Regions from separate parts of the Homo sapiens genome. Here all the other regions are linked to region 2. The links are contacts of gene promoters, found by promoter capture Hi-C in blood cells and fetal thymus (Javierre and others, 2016). All regions are on one chromosome and are shown on one strand. The core of a region is centred on a gene start or on the middle of the fragment in contact, and the rest is flanking DNA. Distances in the headings are between cores, read along the strand shown. Region 1 holds the start of PHKA2 (phosphorylase kinase regulatory subunit alpha 2). Region 2 holds the start of REPS2 (RALBP1 associated Eps domain containing 2). Region 3 holds the start of PDHA1 (pyruvate dehydrogenase E1 subunit alpha 1).

Region 1 (2,957 bases), core at 431-2,930, 2.0 Mb before region 2:
GAGATACCAAAAGACTGTTTCAATGAATAACGTACATTCCAATTAGGAAAATATGCCTCATCCACACATGAAAACATAAATAACAACAGGAGGCAATACATTGTGGCCAAGTGACAACGAAATTAGCTATGATTTATTAAGTATTTTTCTACTAGCCAGGCTTGTGCTAAATGCTTTATATTCATCCTCTTGATCTTAAGTCATCCTGTGAGGTAGGTGCTATGATTATCTCCATTTTACAGATGAGAACACTTAAGTTCAAACATGTAAAACGGGATGCCAAAGGTCATACGACTTGTAAATGACAGAACTGACATTTGAACTCAAAATGAACTGACTCTAAGTCCTAAGCTCTTACTAAACCAATGGCTACAGAAATTCAGAAAATGGGGAAGGCTAATAGAGGAGCTGAGCTGGCCGTTAAGGGAAAGATAGGCTTCAGTTAGTCAAGGAGGAGGAAGAAGGGCCGAAGGGGTCAAGCATAGAGTAAATGCATGGAGACTGGAAAAGAGCTTGCGGAAATTGATTGCATTAGTCTAGCTGTCCAGTAAATTCCTATGTGGGCCAGATTTTGGTGGACAATGAATACCAGGCCGAAGATTGTGAACTGTAGGTTATCAGCAGCCACGAAACATTATAATGAATGCCAAGTTTCAAGCTGTAGACCCGTGGGAGATGAACTGCGAACCTGCCCGAGGAAGCGGCGCCCAAGTGGCTAGGGGCGGGGTCACAGGCGCCAGAGGTGTCGCTGGGGCACCTCTCCGGGCCTTCCCCCTTTTTCTTCCGGGCTGGGTCCCGCTACTCCAGTTCCGCTAGGCGGCGGAGACGGGGCCAGAGGTGGGACTACAATCTTGGCCCTCAGAGGGGTGCCCAGGCGGCCGCGGTAGGCGGCCCTCTTTCTCCGGCCTCGAGTGGGACTGGCACCCGTCTCGGGGGGCTCCACACTACCACGCAGGAAAGCCAACTCGTCCGCCGCCCGAAGCCGGGTTCCCCTAGACTCCCACGGGCCGCCTCCTTTTTCGTCCCCCCCGAGGCCGCGACTCTGAGGGTTCCGCTCTGCGGCGGAGGTGGGGCCAGGGGCGGGGATGTGGGCGGGGCCGTGAGGTCGTTCCAGGGCGCGGGGCGGGGCCGCCCCCTTACCTGTGCCCCTCAGGGTTCCAAACGTTCCACTCCGCGGCAGGGGCGGGGGCGAGTCCGGAGGGCGGGTCCAAGGCGCCCAGGTGGCCGCGGCAGAAGGGCCTGTTTCTCTGGCCTTGGCTGTGGTTGGCAGCCGGCCGGGGAGAGAAGGGACTCAGGGAGGCAACCTGGTTCCCGCCCGTTGCTGATTTCGCAGCGGCTCTCCCGGGCCGCCCCCTTTTCCTTCCTCCTCAGGCCGCGACTTGGAGGGTTCCGCTCCGCGGCGGGGGCAGAGCCAGGGGCGGGGCTGAGCGCGGCCTGGGCGATCTCCCCGGCGGCTGGGGTGGGCTGGCGTCTTCTTCGCGCCCGGGGGACCTCCTCGCGACCGCCGGGACGTAAAAGGGGCTTGGCAGGGGCGTCCTCGCCCCACTCCCGGAACCTGGTTTCCCGCTGCTCCCGCGAGCGTCGGGAGCCCAGCAGGCCTGGCCGAGGCGGGACCTTCGTCGCTCCAGCCCCCGTCCCCGCCCCCGCGCCTCCCCGCCGCGCGGAGCTCTGGTTGGCTTGCTTTCCAACCGGACTTTGGGGCTAGCGTTTAGAAAAGTCTCGACCTCCTCCGGCCCGGTCCCATCCCAAGAACCGACTAAGGCTGTGAGTGTCCGGGAACCAGACCCGCTTGGAGGCCACAGCCCCGACGTCCCGCGCCCACGCGGCAGATCGGGCGCTGCGGCCTGGGAGCCTCGGGGAGATGCGGAGCAGGAGCAATTCCGGGGTCCGCTTGGACGGGTACGCGCGGCTGGTGCAGCAAACCATCCTGTGTTACCAGGTAAGGAGGGACCGCCCCCAGGGAACGCGTGGAACTACCCTCTCATGTAACTCATTCTCCTTCCCAGGTCTGGCCCTCTTGTGACCTGAGACCTTGCAATTAAGAGTTTGCTATTTGAATCTAGTCCTTGCTAGCCAGTGATTACCACCCCATTGCCACCCCGTGCTCCTTAAGATTCAGGGGACCTAACTGTTGCTACGGCTACTTTTCACAGAATTCTTTGGCCATTGTTCAGGATGAGAATGAGCCGCCTCCGTGCCCGGGTCCAAACTGCCTCTTTTTGCATTGACTCTGCTTTTTTTGGACGAGAAGAGGTGTGGGGGGTTTGGACAGACTACACTGAATGAGAACAGTAGACAGGAGTGAAGAAGCTCCTGAAGTTTACGCAGGACTCTGCAGTGTGGGGCGACAGCTACCGTCCCTCCCATGAGCTGTCTTGGTAGAGACCCACCTGGGAAGCCCTTAGGGGCTACTTTGGTTGCTATTTTACAGATAAGAAAATTGTGAGGCTAGAAAGGTCACTGCATGTAGCAGGTCAGACCCAAAGGCTCCCAAGCTCACAGGGTCCTATGACACTGCCCATGTGGTCCGAGGTATGAATTTGCCTGCTATGCTTTGTATTCCTGGGCTAAAATTATGTGTGGGTCCATCAGTGTAAGACCACTGAACTATTTTTATTCCTAGTGAAGACAGCAGCTATGTTTCTTGCCCTCAATCAACAGCAACTATTTATAGGGCCTTCAAAGTCAACGAAGGAAGTGGCATTCAGGGGTTAGAGGCCTGACCTGCAAGTTGGGAGCCATGGTCATTTCCAAGGCACTGACCATTTTCCCTTCTTAACTAATTTCTTAGCCTTGTTTCCTCACTTAGGAAATATTTGTGGTGTATCTGTTATATGCAAAGCACTCTACAAAGTGCTGGGGTTACAAGAATAAATGATCGTAGTGCAGTAACATTTATGCATAAGGTATAGGTCCAAAGTCCCTTAATCTGTTTTCTTTGTTGTTGTTTGTTTGTT
Region 2 (2,909 bases), core at 191-2,690:
TTAATAACATTCATACTATTGCTTTTAGGAAAAGCTTCATTTCACGTTTTGAACCTGATATTAACAGTCTTATCACCATGAAGTGCTGGTGACATGAAATGACAGACAAAGGCTTATCAAGTAGTCTTTCTCCAAGCTCCAAGGAAAGCACAAAACAAAAACAGCGTCTGGTATGTATCATCCCCTAGTACTTTTCCAAGTATAGAACAGCCAAAAGGTGGTAGCTATGACATCCCTTACCTTTCAATTCTATTTCAAGTCCAAGTAATGATAGATGGGAAACTACAGCTGTTTCCCATGGTGGACTTCTGAAGTCCACCTCTAATCTCAAATGGGAAATTTGGTTTTGACTTGACAAACGTCCTCTTGCAGTCCCGTGTCCCTGTTCTGCAACTTGTCATTAAGGTTTTCGATTTAATATTAATATTTAGAAATATGTTATGGGCAATTACATATAGTAGATACTTATATATTACAACTACATAGAGAGGACAACATTCAGCCCTGGGCCTCGAACCCTACGGACACACACACCCTTCAAGTTGAAATCCCAGCAAGGCACCCTGAGAACCCACTCAGGAGAGGGAGGGGCAGGAGCAGCGAGCAGAGGTTAAACCAGGCAGCAGCCAAAACAAACACCACTTCCAGAACAGGACAAACTTTGGGTCTGGGCGGCTGCAGAACCCCAGAAATGGCCGGGGGAGGGGAGAGAGTGTCAGACTGTCTCAGGGAAGGAAGATGGGGAGAGCGCACCCAGCACTGGGCGAGGAGCTGAGCTGCGAAGGAGGCTGGTGTCCCCCGGGGACAAGGGCGTCGCCGCCATCCCCGGCTGCAGAGTCCTCTCTCTCAGAACTGGCCGAGGCCTCCGGGTCCCTGGGGGCAGCCCTGTCGCCCCACTCGCAACCTCCGCCCCCGCACACACTGCCCCACAGACCCGCAGGGACAGGAGGCGGAGGGACCCACCTGGTGCAGCGTCTCGGCGGGCAGCTGCGATGCCCGAAACAGGTCAGCCACGGGGCCGGCGGCCGCAGTGGCCGTGCCGGGGGCGACTCTGGCGGCCTCGGGGGGCCCAGACCCGGGGCCCCCGCCCGCGGCGCCGGCACAGCGCGCGAAGAGCTCGGAGTAGCACTGCTGCTCGCCCTCGCTCAGCAGCAGCGGCGGCGGCCCGGAGCCACAGCCCCCGCCCGCCGCTGCCGCTGCCGCTGCCGCCGCCGCCGCCGCCGCTGCCGCCTCCATGGGGCCAGCAAGGGGGCGCGGCGGAGCCCTGTCCCTAGCTGGGGTGCTGCTGCGTCCGCCACAGCCACCGCCTCCTCGGCCTCAGCTGCCGCCGCCGCCGCCGCCGCCACCACCGCCGCCGCCACCACCACCCCCACGCCCCGCAGCTGCCGCGCGGCCGCTTCCTCCCGGCGCGCGCCGGCCCCACCCCCGGGCTTGAATGTTGTGCCTCAGCTGCGCGGCACATGGAGACAGGCGCGGCGCGGCCCAATCACAGCCTGAGATGTCACCCCGGCCCCGCCCCCGCCTCCCGCTTGCCCCGCCCAGCGCCAGGTAACTAACCCAGCGCGCCGCACGCCCTCCGCCCGTCACAGGCTCCGGTGCCCAGGAAGGCGGGCCCCGTGCCTTTCCAAGCCTACCCTGCAAGGGAGCGGAGCCTTTGGCCATCCGCCCTGGTTGGGAAGGGGGCATCTAGACCCAACTGGAGAGAAGCTCTTTTCGGGGAGCGGGGAAGGTTGTGTTGTTTTCTTGCTAGAAGGCTGGGGCAGGTGTGGTGCCCACACCACGCCATGCCCTTTCCAGAAAGGGACAAGGCATGGGAAATTAGGTTTCCTTTCTTCCATAGCAGTACTGCTTATGTCCTAAAGAGCCGGAAGACGCAGACGTCTGTACAAACAGGGTCCCACTGACCCCAGAGTGTTCAGGGTGGTATTGGAGTTAGGCCCCCTCGTCAGACATGGCTCAAACCAGGAGTTGAGACTTTATAAGGAATAACATCGGTTACTCGTAAATACTAGAGTAGTAAGAGTACAAAAAGACCCATTTTGCAGATCATTTCGTCCAAACCCTGCTTTTACAGATGAGGAAACTGCCATGTTCACCTTCATTCCTCCAAAACCAGTTGAATATCTCGTATGTAGCAGATTTATATGCTAGGGCCTGAAAATACAAACCTCAGTAACAGAGGATCCTCACTCTCCAAAGGAAGCACTTATTTTAGTAGTAAAACAGGCATTTTTTTTAGTACAAAACTTGTTCAAGCTCACACCAAAAATCAATGCGAAACCCCACATTTTTCCACCCCGGTCCATGTCCTCCTCTCTCTCTCCATTCCTCCCTATCCTAAAGCATACACACTATATTTTTCAAATGTGCTTGCTTCCCCCTGGCTAGTACTCTAACCACTTTTTTTTTTTTTTTTTTTTTTTGAGAAGGAGTTTCGCTCTTGTTGCCCAGGCTGTAGTTCAATGGCACAGTCTTGGCTCACTGCAACCTCCACCTCCCGGGTTCGAGCGATTATCCTGCCTCAGCCTCCCGAGTAGCTGGAATTACAGGCGCCTGCCACCACTCCTGGCTAATTTTTGTATTTTTAGTAGAGACGGGGTTTCACCATGTTTGTCAGGCTGGTCTCGAACTCCTGACCTCAGGTGATCCACCCCACCCCCACCCCCCCACCTCGGCCTCCCAAAGTGCTGGGATTACAGGCTTGAGCCACCACGCCTGGCCCTCTAGCCGCTTTTAAAAGAAAGTCCAGGCCGGGCGCGGTGGGTCATGCCTGTAATCCCAGCACTTTGGGAGGCCAAGGCAGGCAGATCACTTGAGTCCTGGAGTTCGAGACCAGCCTGGCCAACGTGGTGAAATCCCATCTCTACTAAAAATACAAAAACTAGCTGGGCCATGGTGGTGAGTGCCTG
Region 3 (2,860 bases), core at 141-2,640, 2.4 Mb before region 2:
TTACAGGCCTGAGCCACCGCACCCGGCAGTTTTGTCATTATTTTAGGCAACAGGATTCCTAGAGGGGCATACCTCTTACCTTTTGACAATCTCTGCCTGTACTAAGTAGAGCGGTATCAAGTCCTGGGGGAAATACCAGAATCCCGAGGCCTGCAGTTACACCAATTAACACGACCTCACTGTGCCTAGGGGGGTCAGAATGCTAGCTCAGGTGTTAGGCACCTCTAAATGCTGAGGCCATGAAATAGTGCTAAACTCTACCCCCCACCCCTCAAGCATCGTTGCTCTTTGCTTTAGCTACTTGTACCCTAAGAATGTGTAGGTAAGGGGAGGGGAGGGCAGCGTCCTCTGAGTTCTGCTTCGGCGCTCCTGAACTCACTGCCAAGAAAAGCTCAGATGTTGAGGGAGAGGGAAGAGGAGGAAGTTTGTTTCTGAAGAGGCTGACCTTCTGTGAACCCGCCTCAGAACTGAGCACAGGTGTTCAAGAAATGTATACCGAACTGGAGACTCAATAAATAACACTATTCAACACACATGTTATCGATTATGTGCCAGGTGCTATTTGGAATCGTTTCCACACGTGTCACTCGTTGAATCCTCAAGACAACCCCAAGAGGTGGGGACTCTTATTATCTCCATTTTAGAGTTAACTGATAACATTTCAGAGATAACTCTTATCTCCATTTAGAGATTAACTCCACTTCGAGCAAACATTTTAGGAAACCGGGTCCCCGGGACGTTTAAAAACTTGCTCAAGGTCACAGGGCTAGTCAATGGTGAGGGTGCTGTTTGAACGAAGCCACCCTGTCTCCAGATTCTACGCTATTACAAAGCCTCTCGGTCAAGAGAAATTAAGTTAGAAGATCCGAAATGAGTGGGGTCAATTGGAGACTCGAAGGAGGCCGAGGCCACCCTTTCCGTGTCCTGTAACCCAACAGGCACCTCTTGAGCACACCGACTTCGCCTGGCGCACAGCTGGGCCCGGGGGCGGGAGGTGGGTGTCGAGAAGGGGGAAGTTCACACGGACCTTGGCGTGATCCCGGTCCGTGCCGCTTCTCCCGAGGCCAGGAACGGAATGCAGGGCGCGGAGGCGAAGTAAAGGCTCCCCGGCTCCCCTGGCGCCTTCCACCCCGCTCTGGGTGGCCCGGCCTGGCCCGCCCTGCCCTCCGGCCCCGCCTCAGCCCCACTCGCGCCCCATCCCGGCCCGCCCGGGAGGTCTCACCGGCTTCTGAGAAGCGCCAGACAGCACGCGGGAGACGGCGGCGAGCATCTTCCTCATGAAGCACAGGCAGTGGCGGCAGCGGCGACTCCTCACAACCCAGGAGGCACGACGCGGGTGCCCCCAAGTCTCCTTCAGGTGCCCCAGCAGACGCCACGCCTCAGTCGCACCGCGGCGTGACAGAGTCGTAATAACGTCATGCGCTGCGCCGGGCCGCGGGCCAACCAGAACGGCGTCCAGGGGGTGCCCCGCCCCCGCTAAAGGCCTGAGGCTGCCCATTGGGTATCAGCGCCAGAGAGGGAGGGGCTGAGGGCTCTTTCCGACGCCACGCCGCGGGCGGGTGAGGAGGCGGGGCTTGATAGCGCCTGCGTGGGAAGGTGGGGCCCCCGCCTCCAGGGCGCCGCGGGAAAGGAGCCTTCCTAGATTCCGCTCTGCTGACTACCGGGGAGGTTGTGCAGGCCCCGTCCTACCGAGCGCCTACTCCTGCCGGTGCTGCAGCTCTGCAGCCCTCGTTCAGTACATCTCGTTCAGTACACTAGATGATGAAGATTAGCAGCATGCTCAGAGCCAAAAGACAGAACATCTGGTTTCTGTAAATGGTCTGCCACTAACTTTGTCTTTAAAAGATCACGTAGCAGTTGGACAGTTCTGCCCTGTCTACTTGAACGCGGATCAAAAAATTTGTTTCCCAATATATGTCGAGAGGACAATGGGAAAAATCTTTTTTCTCTAGTTATTGGTTCACAGGCTCACTGCGAGTTAACAGCGTGGCTCAGCCGATGATAAAAGCACACACAGAGACAAAACACCAAAGCAACAAGGGGCTCTATTCAGAGGATCAAAGGGCTCAGGAACCCATTGTGTTGTGTCCTAGTGGGATTGCACCTGGGGTTCCGGGTTCAGATTTGGGCTCCACATTTTAAGGGGGATAATGAGTAAACTGAGTGGAATCCAGGGGACAGTGGTCAGAACGGTGAGGGGCTGCGATTGTGACTTATGAAGAACGATTAAAGAAGTTAGGAAGAAAACAGGCTAACTAGAATTGGCTGGGTTATGATGTAACAACTGACCTCCAAATTTCAGTGATTTCAAGAATTTGAAGTGACGCGAGCCATCGTACTCGTAACACAGGTCCCTCACAGCGTGGCACCCTCTCTCTGGAACTTAGCTTGTCTCATGGATGAAGAGAAAAGGGATCATTTAAACCGGCTCTCAAAGCTTCTGCCCAGAAGTGACACATGTCACTTCCTCTCAATTTTCACGGACCAGAGCTAGTTACCCGACCATGTCTGAGTTCCACAAGGTGAAATATAATCCTCCTGCCAGGAGGAGAACAGAAAATTGGATGAACAGTAAAACCAGAGAGGATTGGATATGTCTTCACACATTTTCAGGCCAGTCATGTTCCAGGAGGAAGAGCTATTTTGTGTGTGTGTGTGTGTGTGTGTGAATAAAATCATTTCATTTCAGCATAACAATGAATTTTCTAACAATGACAATGGTCCAATGAGATAATTCTCTCCCAGTGTCACTGAAAGTATTCAAAGCAGAAGTTCAAAGCATGACCAGCTCTCAGCATAGCTAGAGAAATAATTTGGGCACTGGGCCAGACTCTGGACTGAGAGATCGTGTTGCAGTGGA

Evidence for each region. The method cuts DNA at HindIII sites, captures the fragments that hold promoters and counts their contacts. A CHiCAGO score of 5 or more calls a contact.
Region 1: the fragment with the promoter of PHKA2 here is called in contact with the fragment with the promoter of REPS2 in region 2 in 1 of 17 cell types (activated CD4 T cells); the score reaches 7.7 in activated CD4 T cells.
Region 3: a contact is called between the fragment with the promoter of PDHA1 here and the fragment with the promoter of REPS2 in region 2, in 3 of 17 cell types (total B cells, non-activated CD4 T cells and fetal thymus). The highest score is 11.1, in total B cells.

What each region holds. Positions count from the first base shown.
Region 1 is chrX:18,982,837-18,985,793 of GRCh38, reverse strand. PHKA2 (phosphorylase kinase regulatory subunit alpha 2) reads left to right here and starts at 1,680. Exons shown (of 33, transcript NM_000292.3): 1 at 1,680-1,939. The coding sequence starts at 1,862. RefSeq lists enhancers at 846-895, 877-1,377, 1,378-1,878 and a silencer at 996-1,685. The HindIII fragment of the contact is 8,902 bases long and covers 1-2,957 here.
Region 2 is chrX:16,945,189-16,948,097 of GRCh38, reverse strand. REPS2 (RALBP1 associated Eps domain containing 2) reads right to left here and starts at 1,440. Exons shown (of 18, transcript NM_004726.3): 1 at 964-1,440. The coding sequence starts at 1,236. The HindIII fragment of the contact is 5,688 bases long and covers 37-2,909 here.
Region 3 is chrX:19,342,457-19,345,316 of GRCh38, reverse strand. It overlaps PDHA1 (pyruvate dehydrogenase E1 subunit alpha 1), which reads right to left and starts at 1,390. Exons shown (of 11, transcript NM_000284.4): 1 at 1,223-1,390. The coding sequence starts at 1,279. The HindIII fragment of the contact is 3,035 bases long and covers 1-2,439 here.